3 separate regions of the Homo sapiens genome follow, and regions 2 and 3 are each linked to region 1. The links are contacts of gene promoters, found by promoter capture Hi-C in human tissues and cell types (Jung and others, 2019). All regions are on one chromosome and are shown on one strand. The core of a region is centred on a gene start or on the middle of the fragment in contact, and the rest is flanking DNA. Distances in the headings are between cores, read along the strand shown. Region 1 holds the start of CBR3 (carbonyl reductase 3). Region 2 overlaps LINC01426 (long intergenic non-protein coding RNA 1426). Region 3 overlaps RUNX1 (RUNX family transcription factor 1).

Region 1 (3,213 bases), core at 1-2,500:
AGTAACTTTTTTTTTTTTTTCATACGGAGTCTCGCTCTGTCTCCCAGTCTGGAGTGCAGTGGCGCGATCTCGGCTCACTGCCTCCCAGGTTCAAGCGTTTCTCCTGCCTCGGCCTCCCAAAGTGCTGGCATTACAGGCGTGAGCCACTGCGCCCTCCTGTAATTTTCTTCAGTAGTAGTTAGAATAAGCAATCTCTTGATCCCCGCCCCTCTCCTTAAGGAAGATGCTTTTAAGACCACACGCACGTATTTTATAACAAACATAAGCTCCCCGGGCGGGGGTGGGGGAACGAGAAGGCTCGCTTCCTTTTTGCCAGAGCCTATCAAAGCTCTGCATTACACAAATTGTCAAGTCCACCAAGGGCAAGCGCGCGCTAATCCTGTTTTAGCGATTCATTTCCTTTCCCGAGCAAATGCCTCCGGGCATCTATGAATGCGCCCTTTCAAGGAAAGCGAAAGCCCAAAGCGAGCGGAGACCGTTTCTTTGCAGAGAAAATGTTTCTCGCGTTGGAAGGAAAGCTGATGAACTCTAGCAGGGCGTTGCCCCCTCCCAGGAGGCCAGTTTTCCTGCACACAACAGCGGCTGACAGTTCGGGGAGGGCCCCGGGCCGCGCACAGGCCCTCACAGGCCGGCGGGCGGGGCGCGCTGTTTGTCGCCCGGGCCCGCCTGGGGCTCAGCGAATCACGGAAAGCGAAAACCGCCTCGCGGGAGGCGTGGGCTGAGCGCATCCCTAGGGGTCGGCGCCACCCTCCTCGGTCACTCAAGTGGACGGGTGGGGAGCCTGCGGCTGGCCACCTCCGCACCCTCGGAGCGCTCCAGGGGGCCCCAACCCAAGCCCTGCACCTACTCTTGAAGGCGACGGCCGCGTTGTTGACCAGTACGTTGAGCCCCCCGTACTCCTTGCGCAGGAAGTCGCGCAGGGCGCGGATGCTCTGCAAGTCGTCGATGTCCAGTTGGTGGAAGCGCGGGCTCAGGCCCTCCGCCTGCAGCTGCTGCACGGCCGCCTGGCCCCGCGCCACGTCCCGCGCGGTGAGCACCACATCCCCAGAGAACTGTCGGCACAGTTCGCGCGCGATGGCCAAGCCGATGCCCCTGTTGGCCCCGGTCACCAGCGCCACGCGGCTGCAGGACGACATGGCTGAGCGGGGAGCGCGGGGCACCTGCGTGGAGGGCGGACCGGGCTTCGGACCACCTGGGGCGCGCCCCGAGGAGCCCAGCTAGTGTCAATGCCGCCGCGCAGACTAAGTTCTGGGATCCAGTGCTGCGAGTCTTAAAGAAAAAGGCCCCGGCTCCGGTCCCTCCCCTCCGAGGAGGGGCCGTCTGTGCCCTCTGTTCCAACTCCCGGGCCCGCCCCCTGCCCACGCTGCGCCCTTCAGGATCCGGGCTCTGAGCCGCGGGGTGATCTGCGAGGTGTCCGAAGCCAAATCGGACCTTGATGGGTCAGTCGGGGGCTCCAGATTCTTGGCAACTGGACTGAAGAAATTATTTTGGGAAAACCCCAAAGTGAGAAAAACAAGTGCTGAGTAATTTTCTTGGGTGTGCGCCCATCATGCACTGCAAAATGCGAATGTTTGCTTTTTCCTAAGATGCAGTGACTTACTTAGACACAGTAACTGCTTCTCTGGACATAGGTTGCCTTGCTTGCTTAAAAGGAACTCAAGAGAGGGAACTAGATGCCCTGTGAGCGCACTTAGCAGGTGTGGGCAGGCGACATCGCTCTGGGATTCCCAGTGAATGTGCCCCCAAGTGGGAGGGAATGTTTTTATTTAATCCTACCTAACTCCTACGGGTGCTAAAAGTGTCTGCATTTAGGTTTGTCCAGGGAGGATATAGATCTATAAAGATCTGGATTGATCATATGTTCTCACAGATCTGTGTACCGGCAAAGAAAGTTAAACCAAATTCCCAAAGGTGTGTCAAGCTGTGGGCACAAAATTAGAGTCTCATCCATCGTCTTCAGTGTAAACTGAGTTGTTTGATCAGTGACTTTGAGATTTGGGGAGAACCATGACATCATCACGACTCAGCCTTTTCCATGCAGAGCTGGCTAACCCGCCTGTGTCTCTGTTACTCTGACTCTACCTTCTCTCTCAAGTCCTTACTTGAGGTTCCGGAGGTGGGCCCCTGCTGTGATCTCCTACTGTGCCTCCCCCAGTATTTCCTTCTTTTTTCTCCTAAAGATCATTTGGTCCGGGCGCGGTGGCTCACACCTGTAATCCCAGCACTTTGGGAGGCTGAGGCGGGTGGATTACGCGGTCAGGAGTTCAAGACCAGCCTGACCAACATGGTGAAACCCCCATCTCTACTAAAAATACAAAAATTACCTGGGTGTGGTGGCACGTGCCTGTAATCCCAGCTACTTAGGAGGCTGAGGCAGGAGAACTGCTTGAACCCGGGAGGCGGAGGTTGCAGTAAACCGAGATTGCACCACTGCACTCCAACCTGTGCAACAGAGTGAGACTTTTCAAAAAAAAAAAAAAAGATCATTTGGAACCTTGTTTTAAGGATATGGGGCTATTTAGGCTTTCTATTTCTGTTTTTTTTTTTTTTTTTTTTTTTTTTAATAGGGTCTTCTCTGTCGCCCAGGCTGGAGTGCAGTGCTGCAGTCGTGGCTCACTGTAGCGTCAGTCTCCTGAGCTCAGGTGATCCTCCCCTTTAGCCTCCCTAGTAGCTGGGACTACAAGTGTGCCACAGTCATGCCTGGATAATTTTTTTTTTTTTTTTTTTTTTGAGACGGAGTTTTGCTCTGTCACCCAGGCTGGAGTGCAGTGGCACGATCTTGGCTCACTGCAACCTCCGAATCCTGGGTTCCAACGATTCTCCTGCCTCAGGCTCCTGAGTAGCTGGGATTACAGGCGCTGCCACTACACCCAGCTAATTTTTGTATTTTTAGTAGATACAGGGTTTCACCATGTTGGCCAGGCTGGTCTCGAACTCCTGACCTCGTGATCCACCCGCCTTGGCCTCCCAAAGTGCTGGGATTACAGGCGTGAGCCACCACACCCGGCCTGCCTGGATAATTTTTTATTTTATTTTATTTTTATTTGTTTTTAGAGATGGGAGTCTCACTGTGTTGCTCAGACTGGTTGAACTCCTGGGCTACATCGATTCTCCCTCCTTGGCCTCTCAAAGTGCTGGTATTACAGGCTTGTGTCACCGTGCCTGGCCTAGTTCTTCTTGAGTGACCTTAATTTCTGTTTTTCATAATTTTAT
Region 2 (3,213 bases), core at 423-2,922, 1.4 Mb after region 1:
TATTCTACAGCTATAAAACAGTAAAGAAGCTCTCTACGTAAAAGTATGGAAAGGAAACAAAGAAATCAAGGTGCAAAATGGTGTATGCAATAGGCTTTATGCAAAAAGGGAAAATTAAGAACATATATTCACTTTGGTTATATTTTTCAAAGATTCATAAAATCTAAGAAAATATAAATAAGACGTAAAAAGTTGTAGCTTTTTTGTATTGGTTTTGCTTTTATGTAATATGATTGTATAATCTATTAAAAATAAGGGAAGAAAACCAAATCTATATTTCTACATAGCTGAGTTTGAGACTTGTGAAAAATTACTACCTTCTCTACCTGTACCTTCCATATCAAGGGGTTCAAGGAGCACTTGCTGATTGGCTGATTCCAAGCCTACTGAGTCATTAATATTACATCCTTCAATCCCGTAAGAATGTGGTGAGATCCAGGCTATGCTTGACCTGACCTGACAAGCTGCATGATTTAAGGGAAACAGCACTCGAGTCAAAGTAGACTACTGGAGCCAAGATCTGGTTAATTTGCATATGACTTTAGGCAGGTCACAGACCCTCTTGTAGCTTCAATTCTTACATCATAAAGTAAAGAAATCAGCTGAGGTTAGCAAATATTTATTGGGAGATCACTGCCATCTTGGAGCCTCAACACTGCAGTAAGACTCAGTGCCTGTCCTCAAGGCCTAGAGGACTGATGGAGGAGGGAAGCAAGATGGAGACAAGGTCTGCAGAAGGAGTCAGGAACCAAGTCAGAGGGCTCTCCATGGAGCTCTGGATCCCAGAAGAGGGCCACACCCATCCCATCCCACGGCTCATGGAAACCTCTCTATAGGAGAAGGATTTGAAGAGAAGGTATCTCAGCAAACAGAATAGGAGGAAAGAAGGTGTGACCTGGGACCCATAAGGGAAGCTCAGGCAGCAAGGATTACTGAAGTATCGAGCCTGGGATGGGAAGGAGTGGCGGGTGCAGCTGTGACTGTGCCCTTCCAAAGATCCAGCCAGCTCTGACTCTCCAGGTGTCTGTGTTCCACAGGATGGTGCAGCGAGAGCACAGGCCAGGTCAGGGACAATCGAAACAAAACGGGTTCCACTGAGGACCAGGACCAAGGAAAAGTTCCCTTTGCATCCACTGGGGACCTATGGCTGGGTAGGCAGGAGCCTTTCCTCTTCAGCCCGAGCTCTGCCAAGCCTTGCAGGAGCTGCATGCATGAGTGCAGAGGAGTTAAGGAGATGGTCCCTGGCACTTGAAACCCCATTCCCACCTCCAGCATCTTCACTGCATGATGTCCCTGGTGCCCAGGGCTCGTTCTCCCCTTAGGGACATGGGCCCACCTGAGATCTCTTCTGCTGTCCCCGCCTCCTAGGGTTAGCACTGCCTCTAGTGTTGGCATGCCCCACTGATCAGTGGCCTTACAGGGACCCAGTGGCCTTGCAGGGACTATGGTGCATGGCATTACCCTCATCTCATTTGATTCCCACCACAATCCTTCGAGGTAGTATCACTGCATGCATTTTACAGATGAGACAGTGAAGCTTAAAGCAGCTAATTGCCCCATGGTCCCAGAGTTAGTTAGTAGTAGAGCTAGGATTCGAATCTGGGTCTCTCCTCCCCAAGCCAGGGAGCTGAAGCAAGGTCTTTCTCTGCCTGGAAGAAAGGGCCTGTCCATTTGCTTGACAAACAGGTTGGCTATTCCAAGCTTTGTCCCAACCATCTTGGCCAGGCCACTGAGCTCCTCCCATATCCCAGCCCACCCCATTCATCCCCTAAATCCAAGGCCAGCTCCTCACCCTCCCCTGAGCATGGCTGGATCAGATGAGCAAAAGCAACAGCGCTCACAAGATTGCCCCACTTGGCTCCAGCAATTAATTAAGAGCCGTCTGAGAGCCTCCAAGGGGCCTGCAAGCTCCAGCAAGATGCGGCACACATGGCTCAATCCAAAATATTCACTGTGTTTTTCCCTAGCTGGGGAACCAGTCCTTACCTGTTACCTGAACCTGATTAAATGCCCAAGCCGCTCACTCTTGGTGCCAGCCAGGAGCCAGCCTGCTGGTCCTATGGAAGGTGGGGTGGTGGCTGGAAACTTGACAATGATAGTCATCCGTCAATAAATACGGCGTTGTTTATGGGCTATAACATGAAGCCTCCAGGGCCTGTGCCAGGCACTGCTTATTCTGGTCAACAGGCTGCTGGTACACAGGAGACCTATGGGCTCAGCTGGGGCATGGGAGGAGCCCGAGACTCAACCCAGAGGGGACCATGGGGAGGGCTGCTCTAGGCCATGTTGGGGGCCTCATCACCACCATTCTGGTTCCCAGGTGGTCCATCCTCCACCTGGCACCGGACAACCTGGGTCAGGTATATTTTGTTGTTATTCCTCTGCATAAGACCTTCCATTGCCTTCGCATATACAGTTGGGCCCTTGAATGTTGGAATCTGATTTAGACATAACACTTCCTTGGAAAGCTCATACACCAAGAAGAAAGACACCTGCTATGACGGTGGTGGACCATGGCCCCTCATAGTCTTAGACTTGTCTTAGGGATCAAGTGACTCTGTCCCACCCTGCAGCATAGTCTATGTTCTGCCAGCATTAAAATTAAAGTCCTACTGGCTCTCACTCCAAAATACATCCGAACCCATCCATTTTCTCCACCAACACCTAGACCAGGGAGAGCTCAGTAGCCCTTTTTGGTGAAGAGCCAGATAGTGCATACTTCAGGTGTTGTAGGGCAAGAGGCAAAATCAAACCTACTATGCAGTTACTTATTATTATTTTTTTTTTTTGAGACAGATCCTCACTCTGTCACCTAGGCTGGAGTGCAACGGTGCAATCTCAGCTCACTGCAATCTTCCCTGCCCGGGTTCAAGTGATTCTCCTGCCTCAGCCTCCCGAGTAGCTGAGATTACAGGTGCCTACCATCACACCCAGCTAATTTTTGTATTTTTAGTAGAGACAGGGTTTCACCATGTTGGCCAGGCTGGTCTTGAACTCCTGATATTAGGTGATCCACCTGCCTCGGCCTCCCAGAGTGCTGGGATTACACGCATGAGCCACGATGCCCTGCAGCAGTTACTTCCATAAAAAGAGTGAAAGCACATTTCCATACTTTTTTATTAATGAAAATTAAAATATGACAATATTATTAAAAATCAAGGATATTAAAAAAATACAGTTCAACTAATGAGAAAAAAATGAATTCTTTTTTTA
Region 3 (3,213 bases), core at 228-2,727, 1.3 Mb after region 1:
CATTTCCTGTTCGTTTAAAGGGCGAATCAAGGCAGGTGGTTCCAAGTGTAAAGATAAGCTACTAAAAAAAAAGTTTAAATAATTGTCCCCTTTAAAGGGAGATTAATTTAATATAAGCTTTTTATAGTTCCAAGCCTCAGCTGGGTCTTGATCTTATTACAACGACGAATATTCACTTTTTAAAAAAGTATTGTTGCGGTTATTTTTAAGCTTTATACAGTTTCCACACTTAGATTGTGATTTCTAAAACAAAACGAAATTTGCAGTTGGCTGTGTCTATAGATTGGCCTCTTTTTCCACTCACTTTTCTAAAAGCAGTTTTTTTTGTTTGTTTTGTTTTTTAGTGGGGGTGGAAATGAGGAGAAGGAACGAAGGAACGTGGTGGCTTGCTTGACTCTTTTTTCCCTCCCTCCGTTTACTTAGATTTGGGTTTGGGAGACCATTTTACTTTTAAATCATTCTAACCCTTTGCCTAAATGGACTCAGCGATGACTCTTTAGGGCACCCGCATTGAGAGGGGACCCAACAGGGTTGGGCCATGGGGTCACTATCAGATAAAGAGCAGAGGCAAGACGGGCTGATAACCACCAAAGGCCATTAAAACCTGGCTGCCCCAATGCACTAGGGCTCTAAGAGATTTGTGGCTTCCTTTTGGGGGGGAAATCAGGGTCTCTTCTGAACTCCCTCCTCTGCCAGGGAACCCACACTCAAATATATTAAAAGACTAAATGATTAATAAATAATCTTCAGGAATTGGAGCAATTCAGAGTCTCAAGCCATTACATGAAAGTATTTATTTTCTTCTAAAAAATGAAAAATTATACATATTGCTTTTATGAGCTGTCAGAATTCTTTCTAGCAGAAACCATAATAACCATAGAGTTTCCTTTTTAAAATGACTTTTGGCAATTCACTTAAAAACAATTAATTTGTTTTATTGAGTGATAATCTATAGGCTACTAAAAATCCAAATACAGAGCTCTTGAAAAAAGTTCAAGCAGATCCCCTGAGAACATTTAGGGGAAAGGAAAGGATAGCAGAGAAATCAGACCATTTGATTATTGTCTGTCACCACCCCAATCCTCATAAAAAGAGGCTTCTTCCTGGAGGAGACCTGCTCACTGCATAACTAGAAGAGTAGACAAAATGTTCAGTGAGACAGTAAACGTGAAGGGATAAAATGTTAGGGATAAAAGCAAGCAAAACATCAAAACCTGCCTACATCCCGGGCTCATTTAGTGTGTGTCCCTGGCTTCACTCTATCTGCCCACCCAACCACCTCACAAGCAGCTTCAACAGAAATTATTACTTTAAAATTTGGATCTTAAATAAGCCGCAGGCAATCTCCCTAGGAAGTTAACCAGTAAATAATTATTATATTCCCTATGGTAAAGAGAAGCAAATGTGAAACAATGATAAGGCCTGATGATATTGATGAAAAGATCACTGAAGGCCTTCTTAGGAATCTCCTGAAGTTCTGTAGGTAAATCCTCTACGTCAATCTTCTGAACTAAAGAGAGATTTAAAATTATGAATTTTCTTTAAAATAGATTACAATAACCCTACTTGCTTATTTTGAGCCCCAACCTGTTCTCCCCCTACTCCTTCCCTCCCATGGAACACCTTTATTTTTTACAGTATGAGAGATACATGTTTTTTACTACTAAGAAAACCTTAAGTTTGCTGTGTGTTTTGCTGTACTTACAGAATTAGCCTAAAAAGCTGTTTTGATGACTTAGGATGTATTTGGTAATACCATGGTGTTATAGCTTGTTCAGGCCCTGGTACACCAGAGTCCAAAGACGTAAACGTGCCTTCAGCAGGGAAGTTCGGAGGTCTTGGATTCTGATGGTAATATTCTTTTCATAAAAAGGAAATAAGTAATATTTTTGTCGGCAAGATCACAGTCCCTAGCTATGCCTTAAATATCATCTCAGCTGAATTCTGTGTTCCACTCCACAGCCTTCTTTGCAACACTGGAAGGTTAACGGATTTGAAGTAAATGAATTGTAACTGTAATTTCAACCTAATTAGAATTGGTTTAAAATGCCAGTTTGGACCGTGAACAGGCTAGCCAAGAACAGTATTGGGAGGTCCATGTAATATAGAAGAGAGTTGATATTTGGCCCAACTTCCTGATACTTTAAAAACAGAGAAGTAAAACAAAATATGAGATATCTTTGGCCAGCAAGTCCCTTCTTGCCTGTTTGGTCTGTGTTAAAATGTAAATGTTTGTGTTTCCTTACCTATTGTTTATAGCTTTTCATTCCAGTTGTTTCTTTTTTCTGTTTGAAGTTAGATATTTTTACATTCTCTCCATATTGCCCATCAGTGACAAAACCTGTATCAAATTAGCACGCATGTTAGTTTTGAATTAAAAAGAAACTTTTTAAACCTGGCTTAAGTATGCTTGTTAACAATTGGACGATATACAGTATTAATGAATTGCCCTGGATTTACTAGTTCCCCTTTACCCACCCGCCTCCACCAAAAAAAAACCCTCAGAGATCAATACAAGGCCAAGTGAATGATATGTAGGTGCCCAAATATGGTTGATTCTGCTGCATTTAAAAAAAAAGAGGAGTGGGAGTTAAACTTCTAATTTTTTTCTTCTTAAGTTCCAACATCAACAGCCTTTTCTTATTTAGCCTCCATGATAATTTTATTCTATGTTTGTTTCGACTTGGCGAAGGTCTCCTGAATTTGCCAAATTACCAATGAGGATAGTATTGGAAAGATGAGAGAGGCACAGGCTTGGAGCACTGTGAGGGGAACAGCAGTAGGAGGCAGATAATTCAGAATACATTCCTGTAGTTATAAAAGAAGATTTATTTATTTTCACCTTTTTACAGATCCAGACCCAACAATGAGTTATTCAGTTTGAAACCCACGTAGTGGAGGCAGTCTCTGTATACCTGCTGAATGTTGAGTTACAATAGAGAAGCCTGGGTTACCACAGGGAGAGGAGGATGAGGAAGTAAAAATATGTGTTCAAAGAGGGCATTTCAACACTGTGAGCTAACTTTACAACGGGAAGTGAAAATCATGAAAAAAAGGGGAAAATTTGTTGTGAGAGACTAAAAAGAGCAAAATAAAGCAAGCCCATTTTTCGGGAATAGAAAAAAAAAAAAAACAGTAGCAATAACCAAATAACTGATCAGGGAGATTTATTTCCGTGATATCTTTTTAAAACAAAAAGGGAATTGTCGTATC

The links. The method cuts DNA at HindIII sites, captures the fragments that hold promoters and counts their contacts. A contact is called where the count stands out against the background at its distance.
Region 2: a fragment that was not itself captured here is called in contact with the fragment with the promoter of CBR3 in region 1 in 1 of the 25 tissues and cell types used here (lymphoblastoid cells).
Region 3: a contact is called between a fragment that was not itself captured here and the fragment with the promoter of CBR3 in region 1, in 1 of the 25 tissues and cell types used here (dorsolateral prefrontal cortex).

The regions. Positions count from the first base shown.
Region 1 is chr21:36,133,116-36,136,328 of GRCh38, reverse strand. It overlaps CBR3 (carbonyl reductase 3), which reads right to left and starts at 1,250. Exons shown (of 3, transcript NM_001236.4): 1 at 848-1,250. The coding sequence starts at 1,136. All of the region lies in intron 2 of CBR3-AS1 (CBR3 antisense RNA 1), which reads left to right. RefSeq lists enhancers at 276-445, 281-1,087, 1,088-1,895 and silencers at 596-765, 1,196-1,265. The HindIII fragment of the contact is 7,591 bases long and covers 1-3,213 here.
Region 2 is chr21:34,759,351-34,762,563 of GRCh38, reverse strand. All of the region lies in intron 1 of LINC01426 (long intergenic non-protein coding RNA 1426), which reads right to left. Among named protein-coding and RNA genes, the nearest start is that of LINC01426, 15 kb to the right of the region's middle. The HindIII fragment of the contact is 3,510 bases long and covers 1-3,213 here.
Region 3 is chr21:34,882,611-34,885,823 of GRCh38, reverse strand. All of the region lies in intron 4 of RUNX1 (RUNX family transcription factor 1), which reads left to right. RUNX1-AS1 (RUNX1 antisense RNA 1) reads right to left here. Exons shown (of 2, transcript NR_186614.1): 2 at 772-2,341. Among named protein-coding and RNA genes, the nearest start is that of RUNX1-AS1, 48 kb to the right of the region's middle. RefSeq lists a silencer at 2,852-2,901. The HindIII fragment of the contact is 3,015 bases long and covers 1-2,984 here.